4 separate regions of the Homo sapiens genome follow, and regions 1, 2 and 4 are each linked to region 3. Evidence: promoter capture Hi-C in human tissues and cell types (Jung and others, 2019). All regions are on one chromosome and are shown on one strand. Each heading gives the region's core, a stretch centred on a gene start or on the middle of the fragment in contact. The rest is flanking DNA. Distances are from core to core; before and after follow the strand shown.

Evidence for each region. The method cuts DNA at HindIII sites, captures the fragments that hold promoters and counts their contacts. A contact is called where the count stands out against the background at its distance.
Region 1: the fragment with the promoter of CPNE7 here is called in contact with the fragment with the promoter of ZC3H18 in region 3 in 1 of the 25 tissues and cell types used here (dorsolateral prefrontal cortex).
Region 2: the fragment with the promoter of FANCA here is called in contact with the fragment with the promoter of ZC3H18 in region 3 in 1 of the 25 tissues and cell types used here (lymphoblastoid cells).
Region 4: a contact is called between the fragment with the promoter of DEF8 here and the fragment with the promoter of ZC3H18 in region 3, in 1 of the 25 tissues and cell types used here (lymphoblastoid cells).

What each region holds. Positions count from the first base shown.
Region 1 is chr16:89,574,346-89,577,045 of GRCh38, forward strand. It overlaps CPNE7 (copine 7), which reads left to right and starts at 1,413. Exons shown (of 15, transcript NM_153636.3): 1 at 1,413-1,726. The coding sequence starts at 1,553. RefSeq lists silencers at 337-566, 807-876. The HindIII fragment of the contact is 23,727 bases long and covers 1-2,700 here.
Region 2 is chr16:89,815,282-89,817,981 of GRCh38, forward strand. FANCA (FA complementation group A) reads right to left here and starts at 1,366. Exons shown (of 43, transcript NM_000135.4): 1 at 1,256-1,366; 2 at 596-705. The coding sequence starts at 1,334. RefSeq lists silencers at 870-919, 1,150-1,439 and enhancers at 1,300-1,594, 1,980-2,029. The HindIII fragment of the contact is 15,845 bases long and covers 1-2,700 here.
Region 3 is chr16:88,569,100-88,571,917 of GRCh38, forward strand. ZC3H18 (zinc finger CCCH-type containing 18) reads left to right here and starts at 1,304. Exons shown (of 18, transcript NM_144604.4): 1 at 1,304-1,467. RefSeq lists enhancers at 485-594, 705-754, 1,845-1,894 and silencers at 995-1,324, 1,505-1,574. The HindIII fragment of the contact is 27,123 bases long and covers 1-2,818 here.
Region 4 is chr16:89,947,154-89,950,036 of GRCh38, forward strand. DEF8 (differentially expressed in FDCP 8 homolog) reads left to right here and starts at 1,602. Exons shown (of 13, transcript NM_001242818.2): 1 at 1,602-1,661; 2 at 2,264-2,360. RefSeq lists an enhancer at 612-951 and a silencer at 1,632-1,731. The HindIII fragment of the contact is 40,323 bases long and covers 1-2,883 here.

The sequences.
Region 1 (2,700 bases), core at 163-2,662, 1.0 Mb after region 3:
AAGCGGAGCTTGGTCTGGGGAAAACTGTCCCAGGGCTGCTGGAACCGAGCGGGAGGCACGGCCTGCAGGAGCTGCCTGGGCGCCCGCACCCTTTGCCTGAATTTCGCATCCTTTTCCCATGGAAGTGGTTGGGGACCGAGGATGTGGCCTCCCGGCAGCCTGGAAGGCTGGGCTGAGGAGGACACAGGGCCGGGAAGGCCCAGACTGGTCCCTAGAGAGCGGGACTGGCCTCTGCCCACTGCGGGCTTCAGGGAGGAGGCGCAGAGGCCGGGGAGACAGCAGATGGGGCCCTGCAGGCCTCGCTGCGCCCTGACCTGTTCCTCGCCTCTTTAGCCAACCTCCCGGGAAGGCAGGAGCCGGTCTCCATGGCCTCTCCCGGCCCTGCCAGCCCCGTGGGGCCTCCCCGCCCTGCAGCCGCGCCCGGCGCCATCCCGCCGTCCGACCGCGAGGGGACGCCGCTGGCCGCGTTCCTCCTCCCAGGCCGAGGCTGCCTGTGCTGCCTCCCGCCGGCGGGGCCCTGAGCCTCCTCGCCCTGTCGGCGGCGGTCCCCTCTGACCGCAGGGTCTTCTTCTAGAGTCCTGATCGCCGAGGCTGAGCGGAGGCGCCCGGTCTTCCCGCCTCTTCAGTCTTAATGTCTCCCTCACCCTCGCCCCCCACCCCCGTGGCTTTTGGCGAGGTCCGTGCCCTATTTTTAGGCAGAAATCGGCAAAAAGAGTGGACTGCGAGGTGGTTTCTGTCCCCGCCGACGCCTCCTCTTCCGCTGCTCCCTCCCCCGGGACCGGTGATGGGGAAGGTGGGGGAGTGAGTTCAGGGCGGAGCGGGCCCACCCCCCACGGAACCCAGGCCTGCCCCGCCCCGCCCCGGCCTCGGGGGACTGGTGTGGACCGTGCCCCGCGGACCCCTCGGAATCAGACCGCGATTCAGCCCTCGGCCCCCCGGGACGGTCCTTCCAGCCCCAGACGAGCGCGGCGCCTGCACACAACAGGCGCCCACTAAATGCTTGTTGATGGAGGTGGCGAGTACCCGAAACCAGCGGAGCCTGGAAATGGGATCCTAGAGATCCGGGAAGGGCGCGGGGATCTGGTGCCAAGCTGGGGTCCCCCTTTTGCCTCCCCTAGTGTCTGCCTGGGTCCGAACCCGGGCTCAGGCCCCGCGCAGCTCGGAGCCTCCAGCCCGGAGCCGGTCCCTGGGCCGGGGATGCGCACAGCCGGGGAGGGCGCGCCCGACCTGACCCCAAAGCTATCAGTTGGGGGGGGGGTCCCCGGGGAATTAGAAGCTGTCTCCTCCCGGGCATCTCCGAGGGGCACCCCTGCCTCTGCCCCCTGCCCTCATTTCCCGCCGCGCCCCTCCCCGGCCCCGCCCCCCGGCCGCGCCCCACCCCCTGCAGTCCCCGCGCGGCGGCCGCCCGAGCCACGTGCGCCCGCGCCCGGCAGGCGTTCAGGGAAGCGCGGCCACGCCTGGGCCGGCCACCATTTCCCGGGCGCCGCGGCGGCGCCGACTCGCGGGCAGCGGCCCCTCAGTGCGCCCAGCCGGGCCCCCGAACGCCGGGAGCATGAGCGCGGGCTCGGAGCGCGGGGCGGCGGCAACCCCCGGGGGTTTGCCCGCGCCCTGCGCCTCGAAGGTGGAGCTGCGGCTCAGCTGCCGGCACCTGCTGGACCGCGACCCGCTCACCAAGTCCGACCCCAGCGTGGCGTTGCTGCAGCAGGCGCAGGGCCAGTGGGTGCAGGTAGGGCCGGGGCGTGGGAGGCCGAGAGGCCACCGGGCCGGGGCTGGCGCCGAGCTGGGGATGCGGAGACCAGAGCGGGCGCGCTGAGGCCAGTGGGGCGCAAGGCGGGGCCCCCCGGAGCTGGGGCTCAGCTCGGGGTCAGGGTTGGGGGTTACCAGGTCTGGGGGTGGGGTGTCCAGAGCTGTGGGGAGAGGCTGGGCTGGAGGAGGTGGCGGCGAGCGGGGTTCGGAGGAGAGAGGGGGGTGCCCCGCAGTGAGGGGTGCGGCCCAGGGTTCGGGGAGGGGGCCCCGGGCCAGAGTGAAGCGCCCAGGCATGAGGCGCGGGCAGGGGGCTCGACCAAGAGGCGCAAGGAGATTGAGGGGTGAGGGGCGCCGGCCGACGGGGGGCGGGAGGCTGGGCGGGAGCAGGCCGGCGAGGGAGCGCGCGCTGGGGTGCGGACCTCCAGGCGTCCGGGGCTCCCGCTCCAACGTGGGTCTCAAGCGAACCCGCTGTGATCGCGGTTGGGGTCCGAAGGGGCACGGGGCCGGCGCCAGACGGGCGCTTCCTCGGTCACCATCTCGCGTGAAACGCGTGGCTTCACCTCGAAAGGGCGAGAAACGCATGGCGCGAAGCCGCAGCGGGCGGAGGAGCCGGAACTCGAACCCCAGTCCGCGCGGGGCGCCAGCGCTTTTCCCCGGCGCAGGGGTCTCTCCAGGCTCCAGCGCGGGCCCGGGCGGCTGCTCGGGCGGTGGAAGGGACGCGGTCACCCGGTGGCGTCTCCGGTCATCCACCTTGAGGGTGAAGGGCCTGCCCCGCCCTCACCGCCTGTCCCCAGGGTTCCGGCTGCCCCCGGAGGCCCCGTGCCCGCCCCTCACAGCCTGAGCCCACCCTTCACATCCCGAGCCCACCATCCCCACGGAGGCCTCGTGCCCGCACCCTCAGAGCGTGAGCTGTACGGGTGGCCCATGTTTGCCCTTGGTTTGAGGTGCAGGATT
Region 2 (2,700 bases), core at 116-2,615, 1.2 Mb after region 3:
CCACTTCGGCCTCCCAAAGGGCTAGGATTACAGGCGTGAGCCACCACGCCCGGCTTTTTTTTTTTTTTTTTTTTTTTTTTTTTTTGTGAGACAGTCTCACTCTGTAATCCAGACTGGATTGCAAGGGGCGTGATCTCGGCTCACTGCAATTTCTGCCTCCCGGGTCCAGGTTCAAGCAATTCTCCTGCCTCAGGCTCCCGAGTAGCTGGGATTAAAGGCGTGCGCCACCACACCCAGCTAATTTTTGTATTTTCAGTAGAGACCGGGTTTCACTATGTTGGCCAGGCTGGTCTCGAACTCCTGACCCTGAGTGATCCACCCGCCTTGGCCTCCCCAAAAGCTGGGATTACAGCCCTGAGCCACGGCGCCCGGCCTGTTTTTTTGTTGTTGTTGTTTTGTTTTTAATAAAAGAGGCGGGGTCTCACCCCGTTGCCCAGGTTGGTCCAGAACTCCCGGGCTCAGGCGACCCTCCCCTCTGCGGGCCAGGCCACCGCGCCCGCCGCCTCGGGTGTTTTCTTAGGAAAGCTGTGCGGTGGCTGGACTCAAAAACCCCGAACCTAAATCTGCCCGCAGACGGACACCAGCTTCCTCTTACCTCAAGCAAAAGGGCATTCAGGTCCTGATGGCTTCGCAGGAGGCGCACAGCTGATTCCTTTAATTTCTGTGCCCTTTCAGGATTATATTTTTCCCTCTTGACCCTTCCCGCTACGGAGAGAAGTCGGTTCGAAACCATCACAGCACAATTCACACACGGGGTCCCCGGCCCGACGCGCAGGTGGACGCCGCGGAGAAACCCACCAGCGACACCCTCCCGAAGAGGGGCCGGGGCTCCTCCCCAGGGCGCAGGTCTCGGGAAACTAACGGAGACGGCCCCACCGCGGACGCCGGGGAAGACGGCCCAGGAGGGCCCGAGGCAGGGGAGCCCGGGGACGGCTGGCGAGGGGCGGCCTCTGCGCTGAGGGGAGCCCCAGGCCGCGCACCCCAGGCCCGCCTGACAGGGCGGCCGGCGGGGGCGGCGTTCGGGAAAGAAGGGAGCGCCCCGCGGGCGGCGGCTGGGGGCGTCCGCCCAGGCGCAGGAGGGGCCGGGTCCGAGGCAGCCGCGCCGCCCCAGCCGGGCGCCCACCCCGCACAGCCCCCCGGGCGCGGCGTCCGGGGATCCGACCGGCGGAGGCTCTGGCGGGAAGGGATCGGGGAACCGGCGAAACCGTCCCGGGCCGGACGCCGCCCACTCCCGCGGCCTGCCGCGCCCACCTACCCAGCAGCTCGGCCCAGGCCCTCCGGCGGCCCCCTGGGTCCTGGCCCGAGGCGGAGTTCGGGACCCACGAGTCGGACATGGCCTTGGCGCCTACAGCCCCGGCGGCGGCTCCCTGCGCCCGAGCCCGCGCTGCCTTCCTATTGGCTGCGGCCAGGCGCGCACACCCGTTGGCTGGCGGCGGCCAGGCCACGCCCCTCAGGTCGAGGCCTTGCGTCGTGGCCATGTTGGTCCTGGGGGAGGCGCCTGCGCGCGGTGAGGTAGTTTTTGCGTTTGGCTTTGCCGCCGCGGTGTAGTCCGCGGGGGCGTCTCGCGCGGGCAGACTGCCGCCCCTCAAGCGTGGTTCCTGCCGGGAATGACTGGGGTTGGTCCTGAAGAGACCACCTGGCCAACCAAGCCGAGGCAGGCTCAGAGCGCCGCGGGGAGCGCAAAGCCGCGCGCGCCTCTGAGCTCCGGGCAGCCGCTGTTCCTCCCGGCGGCCGAACGGTCCGCGCGCAGGGCGGTGTTTCGGCAGCCGGAGACCGCGCGGTAGCCGCGCCTGTATTCCCAGCGCTTTGGGAGGCCGAGGCTGGAGGGTCGCTTGAGCCCAGGAATTCCAGACTAGCCTGGGCAACAGAGCGAGACCCCATCACTTTTGTTTCTTTTCTTTTTTTTTTTTTTCCTTTTTTTGAGACGGAGTCTCCCTCTGTCGCCCAGGCTGGAGTGCAGTGGCGCGATCTCGGCTCACTGCAACGTCTGCCTCCTGGGTTCAGGTGATTCTCCTGCCTCAGCCTCCCGAGTAGCTGGGATTGCAGGTGCGCGCCACCACGCCTGGATGATTTTTGTTATTTTTAGTAGAGACAGCGTTTCGCCATGTTGGCCCAGGCTAGTCTCGAACTCCGGACCTCAGGTGATCCGCCCGCCTCGGCCTCCCAAAGTGCTGGGATTACAGGCGTGAGCCACCGCACCCGGCTGAGACCCTATCTTTTAACCAGCCTGGGCGGCAGAGCGAGACTCTGTCTCAAAACAAAACCAAACATAAGAATTCGTAAAAGCGAGTGCCTAGGCGAAGCTAATGTGCCTCAAAGTCCTGGGTAAGTAGAGGCCCTGGAGACCCGTCCGCATCCTCTGGCAGTGGCCTTGGAACCACCGAAGGGATTCAGCCGAAGGGCCGCGTTCCCGGCAGGCGTCTTTATTGTGTTGATTACGTAGATGGCGTAGATGACGTAGATGACGTTCAGCACCACAAACGAAGAGCCGAGGCACAGAGTGGGGCCTTGGATTCATGAGATGGGGATGGAGCAGAAATGAGAATTCGGAGTCCATGAAACCCCCACAAAGACTCCTGCACGGCCCGACTCGGACACTTTGCAATCTGCTGGTTGAGGGGGATGGTGTGAACTCAGGGAACAGCCTGAGATCGCGCCGCTGCACTCCAGCCTGGGCAACAGAGCAAGACCCTGTTTCAA
Region 3 (2,818 bases), core at 54-2,553:
CAGAAGGTGCCAACTGGTGTCGCAGGGCTGCTCCTGACACGACCCAAAATCACCAGGGTTGAATTCACATTCCTCTTACGTAACCATAACAAGTTGCTGGGACTACAGGCACGCACCACGGTGCCCTGTTAATTTTTTTGTAGAGACAGGGGTCTTGCTTTGTTGCCCAGGCTGGTCTCAAACTCCTGGAGGAGGTGGTCCTCCCACCTTGGACTCCCAAAGTGCTAGGATTACAGGTGTGAGCCACAGTGCCAGGCCTGTGGTACCTCTTCCAAGGACACTAATCCTATCAGATCAGGACCCCACCCTTATAATCTCATTTAACCTTAATTACTTCTCTAAAGGCCCTTTCTGCAAACACAGTCACATTGGGGATTAAGGCTTCACATACAAATGTTAGGGGGACAGAACTCGGTCCATAGCATGGAGTCGCACAGGTTTTGTCCTTTTGCGATTGGCTTGCTTTACTTAGTATGTTTCCAAGGTTCACCCATGTTGTGGCATGGGTCTGAACTTCACTCTTCTTGATGACTGACTCACACTCCACTGCATGGACAGCCAGCATTTTGTCTGTTCCTCAGTTTGTGGACATCTCGCCCCCTTGTTTCCACCTTGGGGATATGGAGGAAGATGGGATGAGCGAAGCCCTGTGATCCCCAGGACCAGCCACGTCGTTGGCAAGGGTCAGCGCAGGATGAAACCGCCGGCCCCTGGTCTCCGGCCGGGCCCTCCGTCTCTAGAGCAGCTCGCACCGCTGCAGCCCCTGGACGCCCCGGGCTGTGGACGCGCCCGTGGGACACCGCGCTGAGCAGGACACGCGACAGGTCCCCTCACTGGCGCTGCTCGCGTTGAACCGCGCGGGGAGCCAGGCAGCCCACGGGAAAGGTAAGAATTGTTAGGCTTTTAATCTAAAGTCGATACCTCAAAAAATAATTCCGGAGGTAAGCATTTAATATCAACATTCAATAAAGCAGGAAGTATCAGCCCGACGAAGACCGCCTTAAGTTTTCCACTTTGATGAACTCGATCATCCCCGGGGATGAAGAACCCGCCGGCCCAGCCGGAGCCCCGTCACGTGACCCGGCGGCCGCGGGGAGCTCTGTGCGCAGGCGCGGATCCGCACGCCCGCCGCCTGAGAAGCGAACTCCCCGTGGCGCCTGCGCTGTAGCGGGGGTTCGGCTGGCTCGCGCGGGTCCGGGCGCGCGCTGCGGGGGCGGAACCGCGCGGAGGCCGGAAGGAAGCTGGAGGGGGCGGGGCGAGGGAGGGAAGCCCGCCGGCCGTAGGACTACCGTCGCGGCCTGATGACGTCGCACAATGGCCGGCCCCCGCGGGTAGTGGAGCCCGTTTGTTCCGCCCGTGTCGAGCCTGGAGCCAGAACCTGTGAAGAGCGGAAGGGCCAAGGGACGTCTTCTCCACGCCGCTCCGACTCCAGGGGAGCCGTGGCCTCCTCTCCGCCCTAGCGCTGAGGTTAGCTGGGGCCGGGAGGGCGGCGGGAGGCCGGGCCGGCGGCGGCGGGAGGAGGAGGCCGCCGAGGCGGCGGCGGCGGCCGCGGGAGGGAGGCCCGGGAGCCCGGCGCGCCTCCGGCCGTGCGGACCCACCGGCCGAAGCGTGGCCCTCGGGCCCAGGGAAGGGGACCTTGAGACAGGCACCACCCCGAGTTCCGTCCGTAAGCCGGCCCCGCGGTCCTGGGGCGCCCTGGGCGCCCGAGCTCCTCGCGCGCTGCCTCCGCGCCCCGCGGCAGAGTTTATTTTCCTGAAGCTGTCATTTCTCTTCCGGGCCACTCGCGTGGCACATGTGTGCCGCCGGCTAAGGGGCGGTGAGAGGCGCCCAGATTCACCTCCAGAGTAGGTCATCCCGGGCTGCTGCTGGGCTCTTCGGAGAACTTTGAGCTCTTTATGAACCTCCTGGAACTTGCTCCGCAGCTTCAAAGTGTGCACAGGTTGGGCGCAGTGATTGCCCCAAGACGCGCGCCGGTCTCTTAGGAGTATGTAACTTCCTTGCCCCTTGGATTAGGAGATCAGAGGTGCTGGGTCCTTTATATAGACCAACTGCAGCTATAATGCTGGAAGAACTGAAACTTAACAGCCTTACTCCTGCCAAACATTTTTCCTGAATACTTTATGACAACTGAGTTTGCCGGGTAGAGTGGCCGTTTTAAATGAGCTTTGTTCGAACAACGCTAACTCATTTGCAAGAGTAGGTCATTCTTCAGACCCATTTGGGAAAATGGAAGAAGAGAGTGTTTGGCATCTGAAGTACCGTTTGGGGTGTAGCAAGGTGCTCATCATGTCTCCTGTTAGACTCACCTCCAGCCTGTTGTCTGTAGAGTAGTCCTTTCCCGTTCAGTAGTTGGGATTATCCGGGTGAGGTTTGACCTCGGCTGAATCCCGCTTCCCAGCTTTGGGAGGAGAGTCTTTTCCTGATAATTTTACTATCTAAGGGCAGTATGGAGCCCAGCCAGCCCTGGAACCAGTCAAATGTGTCCCAAAGCCGGAAACTCCTCTCCCGTTGTAGGTGGGACATGCTGAAATATTGTAAGAAAGCTTTGTGGAGTCACTCCAGAAAGCAAACAGGTAAGTTAACCTATGGCCTACATCGTGTTTACAGAGATTTGTATTTTGTCACAGCTACAGAGCATCTCAAGGTGAGTACCTCTTTATCAAGGAGTTTAGTGGTCACGCTTGGTCACTTTGCACGTGGGGTCTGTCACCAACCTTGATAACGTTCATTTAGATATTTTAAGTCCATGAGGTTATGAGTCAGAATTTTAACCAGATGTACCAGAACTTAGGCATTCAAATAGGTACTGCTCTGTTGA
Region 4 (2,883 bases), core at 352-2,851, 1.4 Mb after region 3:
TGACTGCTGGCCCCCAGGCTTCCGTAGGGTTAAATGAGATGGTGTTGGCAACACGCCCCCCAAAACCTGGCCATAAACTGGTCCCAAAACTGGCCATAAACAAAATCTCTGCAGCACTGTGACATGTTCATGACGGCCATGACGCCCACGCTGGAAGGTCGTGGGTTTACCAGAATGAGGGCAAGGAACACCTGGCCCACCCAGGGCGGAAAACTGCTTAAAGGCATTCTTAAGCCACAAACAATAGCGTGAGCGATCTGTGCCTTAAGGACATGCTCCTGCTGCAGGTAACTAGCCAGACCCATCCCTTTATCTTGGCCCATCCCTTCGTTTCCCATAAGGGATACTTTTAGTTAGTCTAATATCTACAGAAACAATGCTTATCACTGGTTTGCCGTTAATAAATACGTGGGTAAGTCTCTGTTCGAGGCTGTCAGCTCTGAAGGCTGTGAGACCCCTGATTTCCCACTCCACACCTCTCTATCTCTGTGTGTGTGTGTCTTTAGTTCCTCTAGCGCTGCCGGGTTAGGGTCTCCCCGACCGAGCTGGTCTCTGCAAGGTGGTGTGTGGCTCCCACTTGGGAGGCCTCCAGTTACTGGCACTGTCATCACCATGCCCACTGAACAAAGTGGACCAAGCCCCAGAGGCAGCCAAAACCACACCTTTCTGCAGGGAGGGTAAACTGAGCCCGCGAGCTCAGGGCAAGCGCACCAGGCGCATATGCTGGCCTTCATCTGTCCTCAGCTCCTCCCTGCGGGCACAAGCGGGGGCAGCTGAATCTTCCACGCGAGAAGCCTAAGAGTAGGGATACGGGGGCGGGGAGCAGCAGGCCTGCTCTGTGTGTAAACAACGGGAAAGCAGGAATAACGCCAGGGCCCGCGGACACCAGCTGCCTCCGAAGTCCCGCTGCCCGGCGCCTGCATGGAGCAGCCTCCTGAGCGCAGTGTGGCGCGTCCTCCTGTGTAAAGAGGGTAGAGCCGCGCCGGGTCCCTCCCTCTGCAGCCGTGAAGCCCCCGCGGGGCCCTGCAGGTGGCTGGCGGCACCTGCACACGGTGGTTCTCTGTTCCTTTTTCCTCCTCAACCACTGAGGTTAAAAAAAGTGTTAAAAGCCACCCTTTTTGTTTTTTTGAGACGGAGTCTCGCTCTGTCGCCCAGGCTGGAGTGCAGTGGTGCGATCTCGGCTCACTCCGAGCTCCGCCTCCCGGGTTCACGCCGTTCTCCCGCCTCAGCCTCCCGCGTAGCTGGGACTACAGGCGCCCGCCACCGCGCCCGGCTAATTTTTCGTATTTTTAGTGGAGACGGGGTTTCACCGTGTTAGCCAGGATGGTCTCGATCTCCTGACCTCGCGATCCGCCCGCCTCGGCCTCCCGAAGCGCTGGGATGACAGGCGTGAGCCGCCGCGCCCGCCCATTTTTTTTAAACGTGTTGGGGTTTGGGTTTCAGCCACAGGCCTTCTGCGATGAGAGGAAACCCAGGACGCGCAGCCCCAGGTCAGGCCCGCGGAACAGCCGGGCGGACTCCGGGGCTCGCAGACTCGCGACCCGCGTGCCATGAACCTCCGCGCCGGAGGCGGCAGCAGCGAGCGCGGGGCTGGATCCAGCGTAGCGGGGCGGCCGGGCGGATCCAGCGCAGCCGGGAGACAGATGCGAGGCGGCGGTCAGGTGAGCGGCGCGGGGCCGGCGGGGTCGGGGCCGGCGGGGACGGGGCCGGCGGGGACGGGGCCGGCGGGGACGGGGTCGGCGGGGTCGGGGCTGGGAGGGACGGGGCCGGCGGGGACGGGGTCGGCGGGGACGGGGCTGGGAGGGACGGGGCCGGCGGGGACGGGGCCGGCGGGGACGGGGCCGGCGGGGTCGGGGCTGGGAGGGACGGGGCCGGCGGGGACGGGGTCGGCGGGGTCGGGGCTGGGAGGGACGGGGCCGGCGGGGACGGGGCCGGCGGGGACGGGGCCGGCGAGGTCGGGGCCGGCGGGGACGGGGCTGGGAGGGCGGCCCGCCCGGCGCAGGGGCCTCGAGACCTCGGCCGCCCCACCCCGGGGACGCCGCCGCTGCTCCGGCGTCCACACCAGCTGCGTGCGGAGCACCCGGGCGGCTCAGGGGACCCGCGTGGCCGTGCCCCCGCCCTGGGCTGCTCCGAGCCTCAGTTTCCCCCTCGGTGGAACGGGTGGGTGGGAGAGACCTGCCCCCGAGGAGCCCGGGAGACCGGGCGAGCTCCCGCGGGTGTGGTGGGTGGGGAGGCACAGTGCTGGGGTGGCTTCTCCCTGCAGCAGGTGCCGAACCCACGGCCAGGCTTCCGTGGCCAGCAGCCCTAGAGGAATGGCCATCCTGTCCCTGCGAGCCCCTGGGCCCTGGCAGGCGATGCAGGTATGGGCAGACAGGACGCTGTTGACTCCGCACACCGGGGTGACTTCTCAGGTTCTCGGGGTGGCAGCTGCAGTGATGACACCGCTTCCTGGTGGTCACGCCGCGGGCAGGACGCGGGAGGCCAGGTCCGTGCATCCCGCGTGTCCTGAGCTTCGGCCCAGGGTCCCTCCGTGCCCCGGAACCCCGCCGGCTTTCTTCGGCTTCCTTTCATTGCTAAGTTGTGGGGTCCTCCCCGATGAGAGCAGTGGGCTCTAGAGGAGGGGCAGGGGGTGGCCAGACCTCTTGCTTTCACTCTTCCACTTCCTGCCCGCTCCTTTCTGAGGCCAAGTCCCACATCTGGGTGCAGAACTGGTGGGGTGAGCCTGGTGAGAGGGGCAGGCTGGCGTTCTGCTCAGAGTCGGCCACTGTGGCCGGCATCCCCAGGTCTGTGTGAGCAGAAGCTAAGGCTGCGAGGCCAGCGGCCTCCCCTCATTCATCCCCTGCCCGTGCGCCAGGCCTGGGGCTGGCACTGACTGTCAGTAAA